Regions from separate parts of the Homo sapiens genome. Here regions 1, 2, 3, 4 and 5 are each linked to region 6. The links are contacts of gene promoters, found by promoter capture Hi-C in human tissues and cell types (Jung and others, 2019). All regions are on one chromosome and are shown on one strand. The core of a region is centred on a gene start or on the middle of the fragment in contact, and the rest is flanking DNA. Distances in the headings are between cores, read along the strand shown.

The links. Contacts are between HindIII fragments. The study calls those that stand out against the background at their distance.
Region 1: a contact is called between a fragment that was not itself captured here and the fragment with the promoter of HPGD in region 6, in 1 of the 25 tissues and cell types used here (H1 embryonic stem cells).
Region 2: a contact is called between a fragment that was not itself captured here and the fragment with the promoter of HPGD in region 6, in 5 of the 25 tissues and cell types used here (dorsolateral prefrontal cortex, heart left ventricle, heart right ventricle and 2 more).
Region 3: a fragment that was not itself captured here is called in contact with the fragment with the promoter of HPGD in region 6 in 1 of the 25 tissues and cell types used here (mesendoderm cells).
Region 4: a contact is called between a fragment that was not itself captured here and the fragment with the promoter of HPGD in region 6, in 2 of the 25 tissues and cell types used here (lymphoblastoid cells and stomach).
Region 5: a fragment that was not itself captured here is called in contact with the fragment with the promoter of HPGD in region 6 in 10 of the 25 tissues and cell types used here (bladder, heart right ventricle, lymphoblastoid cells and 7 more).

The regions. Positions count from the first base shown.
Region 1 is chr4:174,344,454-174,348,091 of GRCh38, reverse strand. No RefSeq gene overlaps it. Among named protein-coding and RNA genes, the nearest start is that of CEP44, 62 kb to the right of the region's middle. The HindIII fragment of the contact is 4,488 bases long and covers 1-3,638 here.
Region 2 is chr4:174,656,202-174,659,977 of GRCh38, reverse strand. It overlaps GLRA3 (glycine receptor alpha 3), which reads left to right. Exons shown (of 10, transcript NM_006529.4): 8 at 781-924; 9 at 3,191-3,235. Among named protein-coding and RNA genes, the nearest start is that of HPGD, 140 kb to the right of the region's middle. The HindIII fragment of the contact is 6,620 bases long and covers 1-3,776 here.
Region 3 is chr4:174,386,985-174,391,051 of GRCh38, reverse strand. It overlaps LOC105377547 (a long non-coding RNA gene), which reads right to left. Exons shown (of 7, transcript XR_001741920.1): 3 at 2,360-2,475; 4 at 1,552-1,701; 5 at 466-579. Among named protein-coding and RNA genes, the nearest start is that of MIR4276, 35 kb to the left of the region's middle. The HindIII fragment of the contact is 4,777 bases long and covers 63-4,067 here.
Region 4 is chr4:174,724,255-174,728,316 of GRCh38, reverse strand. The region is part of intron 4 of GLRA3 (glycine receptor alpha 3); the gene reads left to right. Among named protein-coding and RNA genes, the nearest start is that of GLRA3, 100 kb to the left of the region's middle. The HindIII fragment of the contact is 4,814 bases long and covers 1-4,062 here.
Region 5 is chr4:174,361,278-174,365,202 of GRCh38, reverse strand. All of the region lies in intron 2 of LOC105377547 (a long non-coding RNA gene), which reads right to left. Among named protein-coding and RNA genes, the nearest start is that of MIR4276, 61 kb to the left of the region's middle. The HindIII fragment of the contact is 6,822 bases long and covers 1-3,925 here.
Region 6 is chr4:174,521,238-174,523,737 of GRCh38, reverse strand. HPGD (15-hydroxyprostaglandin dehydrogenase) reads left to right here and starts at 1,250. Exons shown (of 7, transcript NM_000860.6): 1 at 1,250-1,379; 2 at 1,671-1,794. The coding sequence starts at 1,287. It overlaps LOC105377548 (a long non-coding RNA gene), which reads right to left and starts at 1,125. Exons shown (of 7, transcript XR_007058492.1): 1 at 609-1,125; 2 at 317-353. The HindIII fragment of the contact is 5,489 bases long and covers 1-2,500 here.

The sequences.
Region 1 (3,638 bases), core at 690-3,189, 180 kb after region 6:
GACCCTCGTGCCTCCTCACTGGGAGACACCTCCTCCCAGCAGGGGTCAACAGATACCTCATACAGGAGAGCTCCAGCTGGCATCTGGCAGGTGCCCCTCTGGGATGAAACCTCCAGAGGAAGGAGCAGCCAGCAATCTTTGCATTCTGCAGCCTCTACTGGTGATACCCAGGCAAACAGGGTCTGTAGTGGACCTTCAGCAAACTCCAGCAGACCTACAGAAGAGGGGCCTGACTATAGAAGGAAAACTAACAAACAGAAAGCAATAACATCAACATCAACAAAAAGGATGCCCATGCAAAAACCGCATCCAAAGGTCATCAGCATCAAAGATCAAAAATAGGTAAATCCAAGAAGACAAGGAAAAAGCAGCGCAAAAATGCTGAAAATTCAAAAAAACAGAATGCCTCTTCTCCTCCAGAGGATCACAACTCCTCACCAGCAAGGGAACAAAACTGAATGGAGAATGAGTTTGACAAATTGACAGAAGTAGGCTTCAGAAGGTGGGTAATAACAAACTCCTCCGAGCTAAAGGAACATGTTCTAACCTAATGCAAGGAAGCTAAGAACCTTAATAAAAGGTTACAGGAACTGCTAACTGGAACACTTAGTTTAGAGAAGAACATAAATGACCTGATGGAGCTGAAAAACACAGCACGTGAACTTCATGAAGCATACACAAGTATCAATAGCCGAATCAATCAAGTGGAAGAAAGGGTATCAGGGATTGAAGATCAACTTAATAAAATAAAGCATGAAGACAAGATTAGAGAAAAAAAGAATGAAAGGAAGGAACAAAGCCTCCAAGAAATATTGGACTATATGAAAAGACCAAACCTACGATTGATTGGTGTACCTGAAAGTGATGAGGAGAATGGAACCAAGTTGGAAAACACACTTCAGGATATTATCCAGGAGAACTTCCCCAACCTAGTAAGACAGGCCAACATCCAATTTCCGGAAATACAGAGAACACAACTAAGATACTCCTCAAGAAGAGGAACCCCAAGACACATAATCATCAGATTCACCAAGGTTGAAATGAAGGAACAAATGTTAAGGGCAGCCATAGAGAAAGGTCAGGTTACCCACAAAGGGAAGCCCATCAGACTAATAGCGGATCTCTCTGGAGAAACCCTACAAGCCAGAAGAGAGTGGGGGCCAATATTCAACATTTTTAAAGAAAAGAATTTTCAACCCAGAATTTCATATTCAGCCCAACTAAGCTTCATAAGTGAAGGAGAAATAAAACCCTTTACAGACAAGCAAATGCTGAGGGATTTTTGTTACCACCAGGCCTGCCTTATAAGAGCTCCTGAAGGAAGCACTAAATATGGAAAGGAAAAACTGGTACCAGCCACTCCAAAACACATACCAAAATATAAAGAAAAACAACACTATGGAGAAACTGCATCAACTAATGAGCAAAATAACAAGCTAGCATCAAAATAACAGGATCAAATTCACACATAACAATATGAACCTTAAATGTAAAAGGGCTAAATGCCCCAGTTAAAAGACACAGACTGGCAAATTGGATAAAGAGTCAAGACCCATTGGTGTGCTGTATTCAGGAGACCCATGCCACATGCAAAGACACACATAGGCTTAAAAGAAAGGGATGGAGGAATATTTACCAAGCAAATGGAAAGCAAAAAAAAAGGAGGGGTTGCAATCCTAGTCTCTGATAAAACAGACTTCAAACCAACAAAGATCAAAAAAGACAAAGAAGGGCATTACATAATGGTAAAGGGATCAATGCAACAAGAAAAGCTAACTATCGTAAGTATGTATGCACCCAATACAGGAGCACCCAGGTTTATAAAGCAAGTTCTTAGAGACCTACAAAGAGACTTAGACTCCCACACAATAACAGTGGGAGACTTTAATGCCCCACTGTCATTATTAGACAGATCAACGAGACAGAAAATTAACAAAGATATTCAGAACTTGAACTCAGCTCTGCACCAAGTGGACCTTACAGACATCTATAGAACTCTCCACCCCAAATCAACAGAATATACATTCTTCTCAGCAGCACATCACACTTACTCTAAAATTGGCCACATAATTGGAAGTAAAACACTCCTCAGCAAATGTAAAAGAACAGAAATTATAACTGTCTCTCAGACCACAGTGCAATCAAATTAGAACTCAGGATTAAGAAACTCACTCAAAACCAGACAACTACATGGAAACTGAACAACCTGCTCCTGAATGCCTACTGGATAAATAATGAAACTAAGGCAGAAATAAATAAGTTCTATGAAACCAATGAGAACAAAGACACAACATACCAGAATCTCTGGGACACAGCTAAAGCAGTGTTTAGGGGGAATTTATAGCACTAAATGTCCATATGAGAAAGCAGGAACGATCTAAAATTGACACCCTAACATCACAATTAAAATAACTAGAGAAGCAAGAGCAAACAAATTCAAAAGCTAGCAGAAGAAAAGAACTAACTAAGATCAGAGCAGAACTGACAGAGATAGAGACATGAAAAACCCTTCAAAAAAAATCAATGAATCCAGGAGTGGTTTTTTGAGAAGATTAACAAAATAGACCACTAGCCAGACTAATAAAGAAGAAAAGAGAGAAGAATCAAATAGACACAATAGAAATGATAAAGGGGATATCACCACTGATTCCACAGAAATACAAACTACCATCAGAGAATACTTTAAACACCTCTACACAAAAAAACTAGAAAATCTAGAAGAAATGGTAAATTCCTGGACACATAAACACCATCCCAACCTCCCAAGACTAAACAAGGAAGAAGTCAAATCCCTGAATACACCAGCAACAAGTTCTGAAATTGAGCCAGTAATTAATAGCCTACCAACCAAAAAAAGCCCATGTCTAGACAGATTCACAGCCAAATTCAAAGAGGAGCTGGTACCACTCCTTCTGAAACTATTCCAAACAATAGAAACAAAGAGGGACTCCTCCCTAACTTATTTTATGACTCCAGCATCATCCTGATACCAAAACCTGGCAGAGACACAACAACAACAAAAAGAAAGTTTTAGGCCAATATCCCTGATGAACATCAATGCGAAAATGCTCAATAAAATACTGGCAAACTGAATCCAGCATTACATCAAAAAGCTTATCCACCATGATCAAGTTGGCTTCATCCCTGGGATGCAAGGCTGGTTCAACATACACAAATGAATAAACGTAAGCCATCACATAAACAGAACCAATGACAAAAACCACATAAGTCTCTCAGTAGATGTAGAAAAGGCCTTCAACACCCTTTCATGCTAAAAACACTCAATAAACTAGGTATTGATCGAACATATCTCAAAATAATAAGAGCTATTTATGACAAACCCATAGCCAATATCATACTGAATGGGCAAAAGCTGGAAGCATTCCCTTTGAAAACTGGCACAAAGGCTGGGCGTGGTGGCTCATGCCTATAATCCCAGCACTTTGGGAGGCCAAGACGGGCAGGTCACAAGGTCAGGAGTTCAAGGCCATCCTGGCCAACATGGTGAAACCCTGTCTCTACTAAAAATACAAAAAATTAGCTGAGCGTAGTGGCGAGTTCCTGTAATCCCAGCTACTCAGGAGGCTGAGGCAGGAGAATTGCTTGAACTCTGGAGGCAGAGGTTGCAGTGAGCTGAG
Region 2 (3,776 bases), core at 997-3,496, 140 kb before region 6:
TTTTTTGAGACAGAATTCTACTCTTTTGCCCTGGCTGGAGTGAAGTGGCGTGATCTCGGCTCACTGCAACCTCTGCCCCCTGGGTTCAAGCGATTCTCCTGCCTCAGCCTCCCAAGTAGCTGGGATTATAGGCGCCCGCCACCACACCCGGCTAATTTTTGTATTTTTAAAACAGATGGAGTTTCACAATGTTGGCTAGGCTGGTCTCGAACTCTTGACCTCAGGTGATCCACCCGCCTTGGCATACCAAAGTTCTAGGATTACAGGCGTGAGCCACTGAGCCTGACCTCTTTGCACTATTCTTATAACATGTCTTTATAAAAGTCAAAAAATATTTCAAAATAGATAGCAAATAACCATATATTATTTATAAATGCAATGAAAGAAAAATATCTTAACAGAATTAATAAATACAATTTTAATTTTTTTAAAAAAATTGATGAAAATATGGAACTAAAAAGCCAACAGCATTATCTATATTTCAATGTTCATACTTTTCAAGCAGTATACTGTTCTGAAGGTAAAATTATATTTCATCTTATGTTTTCTTTCATCGTGTTTGGGCTATTGCCTAAATTTGAAAAAAATTAACAAAATGCTCATAATACATAAAATTTACAAAAATAACTAAGGAAACTTCAAGAAAAAATTGTCATTTTCTTTATTTTTTAAAACTTATGTATAAATGACATAATTCAGAATCAGAAAAACTCAGTTTTGTTCTCAAAGGAAGTAACAATATAAGTGAATTTGCTTGCTTTCTCTTTCTCTCTTGGCTAGGTTTCATATGTCAAAGCTATTGATATTTGGATGGCAGTATGCCTCCTTTTTGTGTTTTCAGCACTTCTGGAGTATGCAGCTGTAAATTTTGTATCAAGACAACACAAAGAACTTCTGAGATTTCGACGAAAGAGAAAGAATAAGGTAAGTGATTAAACGTATTGGGTTTGGCAGAATCCAGTTTTCACTCGAAAGTGAATTTGTTGTATTTAATAGAGATGAAAAGAGAAGCAATTGGGACTGGGGATGAAATGATATAATATTCCTTTCATTTTTTTCCAATCCAAACTAAAAGTGTCAAAAATAGCTTTAGGGAGAAAATGATGACACCTAGCTCTACTTTAAACAGCATATCCGATGACATGGGACCTATATCAAGTTCTTTTTAATGCGCTTCCTGGAACAACACTTTTTAAATTTTAATTAATGAATTATGTCATTTCTTACTTGCAATGTTAGAGCATTTCTAATAGTTTCACTTGATATAAGTCATCAAATGTAATTATTCATGTTCCTTTGTCAGAGCTAATTCATTTCATTATTTCCATCAAATATTACTTATTTACTAATACCATGATGATAAATACATGCAAATCTCTGTGGTCTCTTCTTGATGCATATTGTCATGAGCTAAAGACATTTCTTTTGAAACCCTGTGGGAAACACAATAAAGTGCTTTTGTTGCCTGGCTACTATCTGATAAGTGATGAAACCAGGAGGAAACTTAGAACATCATGAAGACACCGTAGGAAGTTGCAGAAGTAAACCCCTAATTGGATTTGGATGCCCTAAATGAAGTTCTTCCTCTATGCAGAACTGTAATGGCATCTTCCTTGACATGCATGTGGTTTTGACCAATCCCCTTTCTTTTTCTATAAGAGAGAGCCTCTATCAACCGCAGATCCACGCATTTACTTCTAATGTGAATGTGCCAACAGACATTTTAAAAGCAAATGGTCTTTTAAAGCAATGGACAATAATGTCAAAATTTTGTGTAATTGTGGCAAGGATCCAATATCCTGGCATATTTGTCAAAAGATAAACCTTAATGGTAACAGTCTAGTTCACATAGTGTGCATTTTTAAGTATTTAAAGGTTTCAATTTTTTAAGGTTTCTTTATAAATTATACTGCAATTTATGTATTGATTAAACTTCTTTAAAAAGCACTAAGCTTTGACCTCTCAGTGCTTGAATCTACTTAGTATTAAACATATTCTAAAGCAGTAACTTTACTTATCATTTCTAATTGGCCTTCCCAAAAGCATCACTGCTCCAATAAACACACAATTAACAGCTACGTGGAAAGAACATCAGCATTCAGCATCGGGAGATTTAGTAATACATGAACAAAAAACAGGCTAAGACTTGCATTTAATTAAATTTTTATGAAAACAGACGCATATCTTTTGTACACTGAAACATATTGTGATGGGGAGATTAACTTTATCTTCTTCCCTCACCTCACCCTGGTCTACTGGTCTGTTACATTTCTCATTTCTCCTCATTCTGCCTTTATCTCTTTTTCTTCCTCTTCTCTCTCCCTCTCCACCGCCTACTTTCTCATCTTTTCTTTCATGATAACTGGCACCGGTTGAACAACGACAGTACAAATGCTGTATCACAGGGATGACACTCTGGTCTTTCTTCGTTACTAGTAACTGATAAAGACCACTTTCCCTTCTAGTATCATTAATTAGAAGTAAAGCAATACGCATGTTCCCTATCATTATGATTTGCTTTTTGTCATTTTGGTTTTCCATTTCTTTACCTTTTTCCTTCTCCTTATACAATTTAGAATGTATCAAGCATGTCCTGTAAATTCTAGAAAAGAGAAGTATTGTGCATCCGGTGTCCAAATGGGTAAACTGTGAAAGCTCAGACATATCCTACATCCACCACACATCCAGTAATCATAATATCCAGTAGAAAAAGTATTAGACAACAAGTTTAGATGCTCAATTCTGGTTCCTTCTTTTAAAAAATTATTTTTACCAAAGTGCCTCTTTATTCAGTTTTACCACATGTAAAAGTGAAATTAAAATATTTGATGCTCCTTCCTCTTTAGCTCATAGAAAGAGGGAAACATTCATTTTCTCCAGTGATTGGTACCCTGGGAAAATGCAGAAATGCAAAAACAATCATATCTTATTATTTTCTGATAACTACTTGATATATTCAGGGAGCAAATGTAATTAAACATAATTATGATTTAATGAAGAAAAAAGGTTTTTTAAGTTCAGTTTTGTATGTTGGGGTAGATACTTTGCATATGTGAAAATCTATTAATTGCTACATATGTCTGTTCAAATGGTATATACAATTACAACCAATTGTGTAATTATATTTAATCATATATGAATTGATTCTCTGGTTTCTCAATTCCTCTTGGTCCACTTTACCTTCCCACAGACAGAAGCTTTTGCACTGGAGAAGTTTTACCGTTTCTCAGATATGGTAAATTGACTTTCTTAACTCTAAATAGAGGAATGTGGTCATCAGTAAAAAGCAGACAGCATATTCTGCACTACCAAGGCAGTGTTTGGTGGGGAAACACAGCCCCTTTTGTATTGAAAGCTGAGCAAATATCATCCCCCTTCAGCTAAGAAGGGTATTTTCTTTTTCTAAAAACTTTATTCTTGTCTTCTCTCATCAATAAAAGGATATTTAAATATTACCCTTCATTTTATTAACAGAGCTATTTGATTGGTCAAAATGATTTAAAAATATATGTTAAAGAGAAATATCACATATATCTTGTAATAATCACCAGAGAAGAAACACTCAGATGCTTGCATAAAATTAGTTGAAAATAAATGGAAAATTTATTTATACAAACAAATTCTAAAAGCAACTGCACAAGAGACCTCAAAATAAGGCAACAAAATGCTTCGTGCCTTCTGTGTATCTTTAGAATCCATTCTAAATGTTAAAATATGTTGAGGTTACTTATAGCAAGTGAACAATTTAGTTTTGATAGCAGCATCCTTTGAAATTA
Region 3 (4,067 bases), core at 1,202-3,701, 130 kb after region 6:
TATACTGGAAATTTTAGGCTGTGTTAAAAGTACACAATCCTGCCATTGTAGTACAAAGCAGCCATAGACAATTCATAAATGAATGAGTGTGACTGTCATCAATCAAACTTTATTGACACTGAAATTTGAATTTCAAATACTTTTCATGTGTCATGAAATGTTATTCTTTTCTTCTTAACCATTAAAAAATCTAAAAACAATTCTAAGTTCATAAGCCCTTCAAAAACAGACAGCATTATCTCAAATTTATGCTTCAACAATTATAAATCATTTTAAACTCGTTTGTGTTTTGAGCATGCATAGCCACTTTGATAATAAGGTCTACATACTTATTTTCTAGTGTGATATATAGTAGGGATCAGAAAGTAACTCTGTTGGCTTGGAAGGCTGAGATTTGGTAGATAAGTTCCACCCTGACTTTGGAGTTTGGTGATATAGTATAATTATTAAATACATGTGGCTGACCTTTTCAGAGGGTCAGTTGGGTGTATCCCAAAGATCATCCCAGGAATGCATTTTCTGGTTCCGACCAACCTCTCCTTCTTAAACACCTCTTTGAAGACATTGCTTTAGTAAATCCTAATAAAACACAGTGTGTGGAAGGTTAAGAGAAGAAAATAAATAGGGATATAGCAACGCTAGGGCTAACACATCACTTACAAGTTTCTGAATAGGTCATCAGACCACGGGTTAATTATTTGTAAATATTTGTAAATAAAAATTATTTATAAATATATATATTTACAAATATATATACACAATATATATACATTTATTTGTCTATTTATTTATTTATTTATTTTGGGACAGGGTCTCACTATGTCACCCAGACTGGAGTGCAGTGGCATGGTCACTGCTCACTGCAGCCTCGACCTCCTGGGCTCACCTCAGCCTCCCACCTCAGCCTCCCAGGCAACTGAAACTACAGGTATGTGCCACAATGCCCAGCTAATTTTTGTATTTTTGGTAGAGATGTGGTTTTGCCCTGTTGCCCAGGTTGGTTTCGCACTCCTGGGCTCAAGCCACCCACCTGCCTTGACCTCTCAAAGCACTGGGATTACAGTCGTGAGCCACCGAGCCTAGGCAAATATACTTTTAATATAAAGAATGATTACATAGAACTTTCAATAGCAAGCCCCAAAAATTCTGCTTGAGACTAACTAGAATATAGGTTGTTATTTTATTTTATAGTTTTTTCTTACCAGACTATCACAAGTAGAAAATTGAAATTAAAATCTCTTGCTAATTTCTGTTTGTTCTGTGATCTCTTGAAGTGTGAATTTAAAATGCTTCTTTCAGTTCAGATTTGATTGAACATTCTATGGAGCACCTACTCACTGCAGATAAAAGGTGAAAAGGCTTTCTTCCATTCAGGTTACTCAGAGGGCAGACACACCTCATTTTAGTCATCCGATATGAACTGAGTGGCAACTCATTGCTATAAATATCTCCATATCTCCTGTTCCTCTCTGCTCAAACCATAGTTCCTGCCCCTATATGCTCAGCATTTTCCCCAGTGCCCTATGAATTCATTTCCTAAGTGTCTCTTACTTTATTTAAATCTCTCACAAATTCCCAAAGCCCATGTTACAAGGAGGAAGATTCAGCTGGGCAGGATCCCAGGAGATCTAGGGCTGGTTCTAAACCGATGACCTTTTAGCACGCATCTCTTATTTCTGCACTCAGCCCCAAAATAATACCCTAGGAGGAGAGAACAAATAGAGCAGGCATTAGATACAAAATAGAGAAACATTACCAACCAGTGACTGTTACCTGAAATTGTATGTTTATGCAAGTAGGGGATGATTTGGGCCGATTTATCTCATTTCAAGGAAGATAAACCTTCATTACAGTTCTGATTGAAGATTCCCATTGAAATCACAACCTGAACTAAACTACATAAAGCAATAAATATCTAGTTCCAGGGGATTCAATTTTCTAAATTTTTCTGAGCAAGGGGTCTATTGCAACTTTGATCTCATTGCAGCTGCTATGCTGGTCCCCAGCAGGAACTCAAGGATTCCACTTTTGAAGTGTCATACACAACTTTTCCTTGCTATGAAGAAACATGTACTTTCCAGCTGCTACAAAAGTAAAAATTTCCTCCCTGACTCTCCCCAGAGAATACATGCACAGAAAACTGAATTCATCTGTTCTGGTGCTGCTTGGAGGTAAGAAAAATAAAGAGAAAAAGAAAACTGTTCAAAAGGAAAACAATAACCCATTATTTTCTAAGCCAACAGTATATTTGCTTCTTACACAGGCTATAGTAAACACTTAGGAGAAATAGTTGTTACTTTATTTTATTAAAACTACAGGTAAGGTCAAGTTTAGCTGGAACTGTGAATTGGATCTTTACCTTCAGCATTGGCCCAGCCTCCTCTCTGGGCCTCTCACATCTGTTTTGGCAACCCCATTCCTCTGAAGCACTTAGAGCTTCATGGTCTTCTTCCATCCCCCAAAGAGCTGCCAAGACTTTAAAAAGAGAATAGTCATTGATGGATTATATAAAATTGAAAGTCAAATTCACTTTGACCCTGGTAGTATCATAATTAATTTATTCTGGAAAGAAAAAAATAATAGTAATTTGTTGCTCACTGTTGTGGAGCTGGGAAGTTCAAGATAAAGCTCCCAGCAGATTTGGTGTCTGGTTAGAGCTCATTCCTCGTAGATGTTGCTTTCTAGGTGTCCTCACATGGAAACCAGGCAGACTCCCTCAAGCCTCTTTTATAAGGGAATTAGTCCCATTAATGAGGGTGGAGCCCTCATGATCTAATCACCTCCCAAAGTCTCTACCTCTTAATACTCTTGCATTGGAGATTAGGTTTCAACATTTGAATTTTGGTGGGACACAAACATTCACATCGTAGCAAGAGGCATACATAAAGCAAAAGCACATACAAATCTGTGACTTATATACATAGAAAAACATATACTAACTTATAAAAACCAAAATACCTATATATAGTTACATTAATGTCAAGCAAAATAGACATTATAACAAATGACGTAGTGCTACAGGTATTAATATGGTTGATTCTTACAAATATAATATCAAGTTACAGAAAAATACATACAGAGAAAATGTATTTATATGAAGTTAAAGAATATACAAAATTGTTACGTAATATTTAGCAATGCTTATATATGTCATGAAGCAATTGTTGAGGAAACACAAAGAGCCTTGGCAGTATTTGTCTAGCCATGAGTATTCATGGTATTATTTTCTATATTCTTTGGTACATTTTATATTATTAATTAATTTCCTCTGTATTACACGTTGGTATACCTGATACATATATACATATATTATATTCCTATCTTTTAAATAAATAAATGGAAGTAAAAAATGTTAACAGTTTGATTTGTTTTAAAAATTATGACTGTGTTTTTAAACCAGAGGAGCTTTCTGGCAACGTCATCTGGAAATAAAACTGCACTTGCCAGCTGCCTTTCAATTATACTGCTCATTTTCTCTATCTTTCAGACTTGTAATCAGAGACAGATCTGGACACGTGAGTTTTAGTTTTCCACTTTGCACTTATAATTACTACCAAAATAGTTACACTCTCTGATGGGCTCCAAATGCATTGCCTAAAGCTTATTTCTTAGTGGGTTCACTTTCTAAATTGTTTGCTCCAACTGATCCTCTAAGAGTCAAAGACACAGGGATCTAAAAGATGAAATAACCAAAAATTATCTGCTTGAGTATTTCCTGGGCCAAGCCAATCAGTGCCTCTCTTTCTCTTTCTGCCTCTCCCCTTTTTCTCCCTCATTCTCTCTCTCTCTCTCTCTCTCTCTCTGTCTCCTTTTCTTAACATAGAAAAGGGAATGAAGAAACAGGAACTATGCAGCCCTGGTCTCCCTGGGACCCTTTCCACAATTCAGTCGTTAGCTCATCTGCCTTGTCTTTTACCATTAGGACTCCACCAGCAAACTGATTACTGGATGCTTCCTGTATGCTCCAGTCAGGATCTAGCCAAAAATGGAATCACAATTCACAGCTAATGTACAGGAATAAAAGCTGTTATTTTTCCTATCAGATGTCCTATAAACTGTAGTTTGTT
Region 4 (4,062 bases), core at 1,139-3,638, 200 kb before region 6:
ATAATAACAGACCCAAGTTCCAGATTCAGGAACTATATAAGTAATTCTTGGAAATCCACTTTTTAAACAAATGTCCCTGGTGATTCTTAATATCAGCCAGGTTGTCAGGAATCTTAAAGGCAAAGTGAAAGGCAGCTGAATCATGCATTGTGATAATACTTTTATGTATATATGTCTTCTTTAAATATTTACAGGTTAAGAAATGTTTAGGTTTCTCATCTGAGATACATTCTACATAGATTATTTTTCAGGTATATGTGTTGTTTTTTAAAAATATCCTTGAGCTTCTCTGGTCATTCTTTTGCATTTTTGCCCTAACTGTTCAAGTTTCATCCTTTCTAACATGCTGCAAAGTGATGATTTGTTAATAAACTTTGAACAAGGCAGGGAAGAAAAAAAATCACTGTATTATGTGAAAATGGATGACAAAACCTTAATCACAATCCCTGGAAAAGACCTTATTTACATTTATGTTCCTAATTATTGACTTATCAGAAAAGTGTATAGCATTAAAAAAAACCCAATATTGAATAATAATTAATACCAAACAATAAACACTAATAAAAATTTTTGACAGTTGAACTCTAGGATTCACTTAACTTTGGCAGTTCATTAAATATGAAACAAATGTAGAGTCAGTAAATAGCTACTTACATGATATATTTGATGATCTTTGTCACATCTGAAAAAATCTTCTAAAATAGTGATTATTTAAAAATTTTCCATAATTGTTTTTCTAATTTAGTTTAGTTGTGAAGAACAGGACGTAAGAACAGAATTCATGTCATGTCTCTTAGAAGAGGGAGAATATGTTATACTTCTAGCAAGAGCCAAATATTTAAATACTTTTTTCACCAGTATCATGTTTTAAAAGGTATCAAGGTAGGCTTAATATTGAGGTCTTAGGCTTAAAATTAATTCATTCTGTTTTATCTCTCTCTTATCTTCTCTTTTGTAAACTTTCCTTCTCATCAGGAATGGGGGTATTTGATTTGGAGTTCATATGCCCAATATCAGGGATAAAATAGTAGGATTCTAAAATGTAATCTTAATAGCTTAGTGATTTTGAAAATGTTTTTTTCTGCAAAGTGGTTTTATAAATAATGCTTTATCCCATGTCTGCTCTTCATCTCTGCATCCCAATACATTATGTCTGCTTTTCACATTTACCTAGTTCATGAGAACAGATTTCTTTTCCATAGATTTATTGATTTCTAAAAGTGACAGGGTGACATCACTCTATTGTGAATTGACCCTTTCATCAGAATTCTGAGAAACAACTAATATGTACTAATATAATCTTAAGTGATTAACTGCTACATATGGCACAAAGGAAGATTTCAGGTTCCACCACTAATAAGCCCTATACTCCCATATGGATGAGTAAATTAATGGTGAATTCCAGGTCTATGCAAGATAATTTTGCACCTTTTAAAAAAATTACCAAAAGTCCACCCCTCCCCCAACCCCGCCCCACCACTAAATATCAAAAGATAGCAAGAATCTCACTTCGGGGAAGATGGAACAGACATACTTTTTTCTATTCTACCTGCTAAGTACAACTAAAAAACCTGGACACAGTATGTATAACAAACTTAGGGAGATGCCCAGTGGTGGATATAAGCACAGGCTGGCTGTGTACCTTGGAACCTGAGGAACAACGTGGAGGTGAATTCCCAGAATTTTCCTTTTGCTTCGTACATCCTAGACTTGAAGATGAAGAAACTGGCAACATGGCAACATCAGCAGGTACAGACAAAAATCAAAGTCCCAACAAAAGCCTAATTTCTCTAGCAAATCTAATATTCCCTAGAGGTTAGGAAAGGGGAAGCCTAGCAAGACAGAAAAGCTTTAGACAACTGCTCTACTCCAGCCCAACACCACAGGAAGAAATGCAATCCCCCTTAAGACAGCAAAGCCCAAATGGGGAGCCCAGACTTCCAGTCTTACCAGGTGGTATTGAGGTACCATCACACCTAACTCAAGATAGTGTCAGGAAAGGACAAATAATGAACTGGATTTTCATGCCCCACCATCCTATAGTGAGCTTCATACCTCACAGAGCCAGGAAGACCACATAGAAAGCCAGGAATTCCTCCCTTTCCCTGCAGAAACAAGGCATACCTTCCCTCTCTGCTGAGGTGGTTTTAGAGAAGACTTAGTGGACAGTCAATATTTTCAACATCACCTAGCAGTTCTGAGGCCACTCTCACCATAGTGTCAGTGGACATCATGCTTACACCTGGGACATCCAGCAATAAGGCGGAGCCTCTCCCCTCACAGGCCTGTATAGAGAGTGGTTAGGAAACAGACACAAGATAACACCTTCCCTTGCCTAAGCAGAGCAATGTCAGAGAAAACCAAAAAAGTTTAAATAAGAGCCAGAGTCTAATAAAATAGTATTTATATGTCTAGGCTTCAACCAAGAAACATTCATCATACAAAGAACCAGAAATCATACAAAGAACCATAAATGTTCAATAATTCTGGAAAAAGACAATCAACTGATAGCAACATCCAAATGACAAAGATGAGGCCAGGAGTGGTGGCTCACACCCTGTAATCTCAGCACTTTGGGAGGCTGAGGCAGGCAAATTGCTTGAGCCCAGGAGTTTGAGACCAGCCCAGGCAACGTGATAAAACCCTGTCTCTACAAAAAAACACAAAAATTAGCTGGGCAAGGTGGCGTTCACCTGTGTTCCCAGTGACTAGGAAGACTAAGGTGGGAGGATCTCTTGAGCCTAAGAGGCAGCGGTTGCAGTGAGCCCAGATCGCACCACTGCACTCCAGCCTGGGTAAAAAAGCAAGTCCCTGTCTCAAAAGAAAAGACAAAAATGTTAGATATCTGGCAAAGACTTTAAAGTAGCCATGATAAATTTGCTTCAGTGAGCAATTACAAATATGCTTGAAACAAATGAGAAAAATAGCCTCAGCAAAGAAATAGAAGCTACAAAGTGAAACCAAATCAAAATTTTAGACCTAAAAATACAATAATCAAAATGAAAGCTCAGTGTATGGGTGGACCAAAAAAAATGGAGAAGATGGAAAAGAGAATCAGTGAACCATAAAACAGAATAACAAAAATTACCCAATCTGAGCAACAGAGATGAATAGATTGGCCGTGGGGCCTGGGAAACAGCCTCAGGGATCTGTGAGATTACAACAAATGATCTAACATTCATGTCATCAGAGTGTCAGATAGAGGGGGAAAGGGTATGAAGCTAAAAAAAACTAGAGAAAACAATGGCTGAAATGTTAATACATTTTGCAAATGGCGTGAGCCTGCAGATTCAAGAAGTTGAGTTCCCAAACAAGATAAATCCAAAGATGTCCATATGAAGACACATAATGCATAAACTTCTGAAAACTAAATACAAATCCTGAAAGCATCCAGAAAATAGTGATATCTTATGCAGGAAAAACAATGAGAATGAGAGTAGATTTTTCTAGACGTCACTGAAGCCAGAAAGAAGCTACAAATATTTTTTTAGGTGCTGAAAGGAAGGAACTCTCATCTGAGAATCTTGTACCCAGGGAATATATCCTTCGGGAATAAAGGGGAAATCAAAACATTCTTGGATAAAGGAAAATAGAGAATTAATCACAAGTAAATCTGCCTGGAAAGTATGGTCAAAGAAGCTTTCTAAAAAAAAGAAAATGATAAAAGAAGAAGCATACGAATATCAAGAAGGAAAAAAGGACACAGGAAGCAAAAATATGAGTGAATACAATAGACTTTCCTTCTCATTTTGAGTTTCCTAAATTATATTTGACAGTTCAAGCAAAAATTATAAGACAGATGTAAGGGGAAAATGAAAGAAACAAATGAGATAACTTTTTTTATAAATGCATTGACAGAAGTTAATGAGACCGGTAAGATTTCGAGCTGTCTAATAGCCCTTCTGTGGTCACATGACTTGATGTTAACTGGGAAGAGGATTTGTCAAGATATATAAAAATATGAAACTCATTTATCCTTCAATTCAGCATTTCTATTTCTAGGAATCTAAATTACATATGTATGTGTACATAAGATATCTTTTACAAAGAGACCCACTGAAA
Region 5 (3,925 bases), core at 505-3,004, 160 kb after region 6:
CACCCAGTGGTTGTTCAGAATTAAAAAAAAAATTTTGCCAGGTCATGACTAACATTTTAAAGGAAATTTTTATTCTTGAAATGCTAGAATGTTTCAGACATTTTAATATGAAGCAACTTGAGACAAAAACTTTTAAAAAATAGCCACACATATCTACTATGAGTACATTATCAATGATGTTATTTTAAACATTGCAACAAAATGATGAATACAATAACAACTCATTCTCATCTTACTTTGACAGGTAATTTAACTTTTTGTTTGAAATAATTATAGATTAATATGAAGTTACAAAAATGGTACATATATTTCTATTTAAAAACTGCCAAGTTACTTCCCGAGTGGTTCTGTCATTTTTGATTCACACAAAGTAAAAGATATTCAGTTTCTCGGCATTCTCATCAGCATTTGGTGTTATCACTAATTTTTTTTTTTTTTTTTTGAGACGGAGTTTTGCTCTGTTGCCCAGGCTGGATTGCCGTTGCATGTGATCTCGGCTCACTGCAACCTCTGTCTCCCGGATTCAAGCAATTCTTCTGCCTCAGCCTCCCAAGTAGCTGGGACTACTGGCATGTGCCACTGCACTGAGCTAATTTTTGCATTTTTAGTAGAGACAGGGTTTCACCATGCTGGCCAGGCTGGTCTTGAACTCCTGACCTGATGATCCACCTGCCTTGGCCTCCCAAAGTGCCAGGATTGCAGGCAAGAGCCACCATGCCCGGCCCACTATTTTTAATGTTAGCCATCCTGATAGGTTTACAGTGGTATCTCACTGTAGTGTGAATGTGCATTTTCCTGATGACAAATGACTCTGAACACTTTTCCTGTGCTTATTTGCCATCCACTCCTCTTTGGAAACGTGTCTGTCTTTTGATCATTTTGTATTTTTAAAACTGTTGACTTTCAAGAATTCTTTATATATTCTATATACAATCCCTTTGTCCTATATGGTCTTTAAAAATATTGTCTCTCACTGTGTAGCTTGCCTTTTCATTCTCTTAACAGGGTTTTTCACAGAGCAAACACTTTATTTTGATGAGGTCTGATATGGTTTGGCTGTGTCTCCACCCAAATCTCATCTTGAATTCCCATGTGTTGTGTGAGGGGCCTGGTGGGAGATAATTGAATCATGAGGGTGAGTCTTTCCCATGCTGTTCTCATGAGAGTGAGTAAGTCTCATGAGATCTCTGATGGTTCTATGAGGAGGTGTTCACCTACACAAGCTTTTTCTTTGCCTGTTGCCATCCATGTAAGATGTGACTTGCTCCTCCTTGCCTTCCACCATGATTGTGAGGCCTCCCCAGCCACGTGGAACTGTAAGTCCATTAAACCTCTCTTTCTTTTGTAAATTGCCCAGTCTCAGGTATGCCTTTATTAGCAGTGTGAAAATGGACTAATACAAGGTCCAATTTATAAAAAAACTTTTTCTACATATCATGTTTTGGGTGTAATCAATAAGAACTCTTTGCCTAGCTCTAAGTCCTGAAGATATTCTCTATTTGATTTTTTTCTAAATGTTTTATATTCTTATATTTTATCATTAAGCCTATGATCTATTTTAAGTTAATTTTTCAATAAAGTATGAGGTTTTAGTCAAGGTGCATTTTTTAGAATGTCCAATTGCTCCAGCACCATTTGTTGAAAAGAAAATCCTTCCTCCCTGGAATTGTTTCTGTACCTTTGTTAAAAATCAGTTGAGTGTGTTTGTGTGTAACATGTGACTTTTATTTCATCTTCTAGTTAAACACATTGCATGATTAATCTCAACAACAGCCTTTTGATGACAGTAATGTAAAAATATTGATGAGATAATTTTATCAAAATGAAAACTAACATTAAATGTCTTTGGCTAGTAAAACACAGAAAATTATTCAAAATGGGAAATGAAATCTTAAATAATCTTCATATCATGTGCTGGGTTAAAACCTAATTTTAAATAAACGGCTGTATAACAAATCAGCAGAGAGCCATACCATTGAAGAGACTTCCATGATTTAAATCCTGGCAAGGTATTTTAGCAGCTAGCTACAGGACCTCTGAGGCCTGGCTACTAAACCCCTCAATGTCGGCATTTTTCATCTCCAAAATACAAGTAATAATCTACCTCCCTCTTTATGTTGCTGTGAAGATAAGTTAATTAACAGAACAATGCTTAACATATTAAGAACCCAATTTATGTCATCTATCATCAATAAAATCTGATATAAAAAGTCTGATAATGCCAGTGACAGCTCGAATCACACCTATCTTTTAAGATGAAATATATTTATCCTAAGCCTTGGGCAAGTTTCCTAGTCTAAGTGCATTTCCTCATCTGTAAAATAGGATTGTTATGAGGAACAAGTGAGCTAAAGTATTAGGTGGATTTATCACAGTGCTCAGTTACACAGGAAATACTCCTCTAGTAAGTACTACTCTTCTAAAATTTAAAATATTACTTACAATATTGTACCATTATTAATATCATATATTTGTGGAGCTCAAAGATGTATACAGACAGTCCCAGACAGGATGGTTCAACTTATGATTTTTTGACTTTACAGTGGTGCAAAAGCGATACACATTCAGTAGAAACCAGAGTTGAAATTTTGACTTTTGATCTTTTCCCAGGCTAGTGATATGCAGTATGACACTCTCTAGATGCTGAGCAATGGCAGTGAGCCATAGCCCTGAGTCAGCCAGGTGATAATGAGGGTAAACCAGTACTATACTACACAGTGTAATATAGTCAATAAATTACGTGAGATATTCAACACTTTATTGTAAAACAGGCTTTGTGTTAGATGATTTTGCCCAACTGTAGGCTAATGTAAATGTTCTGAGCATGTTTAAGGTAGGCTAGGCTAAGCTATGATGTCTAGTAGGTTAGCTACATTAAATGTATTCTGACTTATAGTATTTCCAACTTATGATGGGTTTATTGTGACAGTCTCATTGTAAATTGAGGAGCATCTGCAAAACATGCTATGTTAGATGCTAGGATTAAAAAGCAATAAAGGCAGTCCTTATGCTAGATTGCATTTTATAGTCTACAAGCAAAATCAGAACATGCAAAATAGAGATGGGAGAGAAACTATTGCTACCAGAGGCATATGAGACTAAACAGTTTCAGTCTCCATAATGACCAACCATAGTTTGAATGCTGGAGAATTTCAACACCAACAACTCGGTTGACCTAACTCTTAAAGACAGAGCAAAAATATTTAGCAAACCCATGAAAATTAAGTTTATTTGATATTTTAAGAGAAAGAAACACAGATTAGGCAAATATTCTATGGAAGAATAGCAGAGTTTTACCAACTTAATTAGCATATATAAGAAACTATTACCAGCAAAGAAAATTCTGTATGGAAGCTTAAAGCACGGTGGTTACTTATCAATTATGAATATAAGTCTAATTCGTATTTTTTTCAACTTTTATTTTAGATTCAGGGGTATATATACAAGTTTGTTACCTAGTTATATTCTAAGATGCTTAGGTTTGGGGTATGAATGATCCCGTCACCCAAATACTGAGTATAGTACCCAATAATTTTTCAATGCTTATGTATCTCCCTCTCTGCTCCCTCCAGTAGTCTCCAGTTTCTATTGTTCCCATCTTTACATCCACGAGTACCCAACGTTTAGCTCCCACTTACGAGTGAGGCCGTGGTATTTGGTTCTCTGTTCCTGCTTAATTTGCTTAAGATAATGGCCTCCAGTTGCATCTATGTTGCTGCAAAGGACATGATTTCATTATTTTTCATAGCTGTGTAGTATTGCATGGTGTACATGTACTGCATTTTCTTTATTCAGTCCAATGTTGATGGACACCTAGGTTGATTCCATATCTTTCTTATTGTGAATAGTGCTGCAATGAACAGGTGAGCGCATGATGTGCCTTTTTGGTAGAATAATTTGTTTTCTTTTGGATATATATCCAGTA
Region 6 (2,500 bases), core at 1-2,500:
TTTCCCAGTAAAGAAGGTAAAGAAGATATAAAAATGATTCATTCTGCTGTTAGTGTCAGTCTTTTGCTCAACTCCCATTTCCCCCAAGTATTTAGATTTTTTTTTTCTTTAAGAAAATAAATGCCAGCTGGGCATAGTGGCTCATGCCTGTAATCTTAGCACTCTTTGGGAGTCCAAGGTGGGAGGGTCGCTTGAGCCCTGGAGATTGAGGTTGCAGCGAGCTGGGATTATGCCACTGCATTCTAGCCAAACAGACAGAGCGAGATCTTGTCTCAAGATTAAAAAAAAAAAAAAAAAAAAAAAGCCAACCACTTACGTTTACAGAATTAAAATTGCAGCCTGCCGCTGACAACCTGAGAAAAAGAGACAAAGTCAGTGGAATAGCCCTTGTTATTTATGCAAGTCCGCATACAGCTAGCCCTGGAGTTCCTGGAGAGCAAGGAACCTCTGTCCCAAACTTGACTCAGAGCTTCCAAAGTTGGTGTATTTCAACAAGTAAGCATTCCATTGAGCCAACAATTTGGTAGGCTACCAGCGGCTCTGGAGCGCCTGTTGATGATGACAGTTTTTGTGGGGGCATCTCAATATGACACACAATTGACACTGACCAGAAACACAGCGCCAAGGACACTCTAGTCCTAGCCATGAAATGTTATGATTCCAGGTTTTCAGGACAGAGCAGAGTCCACTTCTCATCTCCAGTATCCGTAAAAATTTGTCCAAAATGTAACTAAGAAAACACAATGATATTAGTTACTTCTGCTCCCCGTCACCCTCAACCCCACTGATTACGAGATGGGAACTCACACAAAACTTTGAGACAAAAGAGCAACAAGTTTGCTTTATTGTTTGCTTGTTTTGTTCCGGAGTCGGGGCCGGGAGGGAGTGCAGGAGGAGGGATCCAAGCTTCCAAGCCTCTGCTCCGCTCTCCTTCTATCCAGTTGGTCTTTAGGGCACTGAAGGAAACTCTTCTTCAGAAATAACCTTTTAACTTTTCTTCTGTCAGCTGCCTGCCAATCACGGAGCCAGAGGCTGAGGGGAGGCTTTGAGCCGGTCTGCGAGTCCGGAAGGCAAAGATCGCGAAGCTTGGCGCTCCAGAACGCTCAGGGGGCAGGTGACACAGTCGTGGGTTCCCCGGCGGGCGCTGGCTTGACAGTTTCCTCCCCGCCCACTGGCAGGGGAGCGCCCCGCCGGGCTGCACGCGCGCGCGCGCAGGGGGGCATAAAAGCCGCGGCCGCGCGGAGACGCGGAGCTCGCCCACCGCCCGCCCCAGCAGTGGCTGCACCATGCACGTGAACGGCAAAGTGGCGCTGGTGACCGGCGCGGCTCAGGGCATAGGCAGAGCCTTTGCAGAGGCGCTGCTGCTTAAGGGCGCCAAGGTAAGCCCGGCGCCCAGCCGCGGAAATTTCTCTGCCCACACACTCCGAGACTCGCCCCGCCGCCCGAGGTGCACTGGCGGAGACAGGGAGGCCGCGCCCGGCGTGCCCACTTTGCCACTTCCAAAATTTGCTGAAGCTGAGGCTGTGAGCACACCTCAGAAGTGGCTGGGAGGGAACCCAAACCTAATTGCCAAATTTCAGGTCCAGGAGGGGAGCCTCTTGTGTGTTTATTGTTTGTCCGTCTATTTCGTGAGCTGCGCAGGCCCGCGATTCCTCTCCTCTTGTCTATAGGTAGCGCTGGTGGATTGGAATCTTGAAGCAGGTGTACAGTGTAAAGCTGCCCTGGATGAGCAGTTTGAACCTCAGAAGACTCTGTTCATCCAGTGCGATGTGGCTGACCAGCAACAACTGAGAGGTAAGACAGGGGAATCAATCTGTCAACTGGGAACGTGCTCTCAACAAGCAACAACCTGAAGGCAGCCCGGCCAGGGGGCCCTGGGTGCCGCCTCCGCTGCCTCCTCGAGAGCAGCTACCTTGAAGCTCCAAAAGACAGTTTGGACTGATACGTTTCCTTCTGACAGCCCAATAGCTGTAAAACCGAAAGAAAGGCAAGACTGCTGGAGAAATCCTTTTATTGTAGTCATTTGGCAGCATTAATGTAATCAAAATTCCTTTATGTATTCAAAGACAGTGCTGCTGCAGTAATTATTAAATGATTGAAATTGCAGACAAAACTTGGAAAATTAAAGTAGGTTAAGTAAGGTACTGTTGACAAACAACTTCTCCCAGAAAGCTGGAGTCCAATGACAATCAAATGTGGCAGTGTTTTTCGTTTAAACATATCAGAATACAAGTTCAAGGAGCATCATCACAGAAGTGCTAGATGCTTTTGACCATATGTTTTCTCCGGCTTTTTCCCCAATGAGACAGTACTTTAAAATAATAATAATAGTAATCATAATAAAGTATACAATGTTAGAATTGTAGTAGAAACATCTCTATCAGCCTTTCCTCAATGCTTTCCTGTTTCCGGCTACTCACTTAAAATAGACCAATCTACTTGTGAAGTATCAGGGACAATATTGGCATACACAATAAACAGCTTTGATTATAAAGCTGTT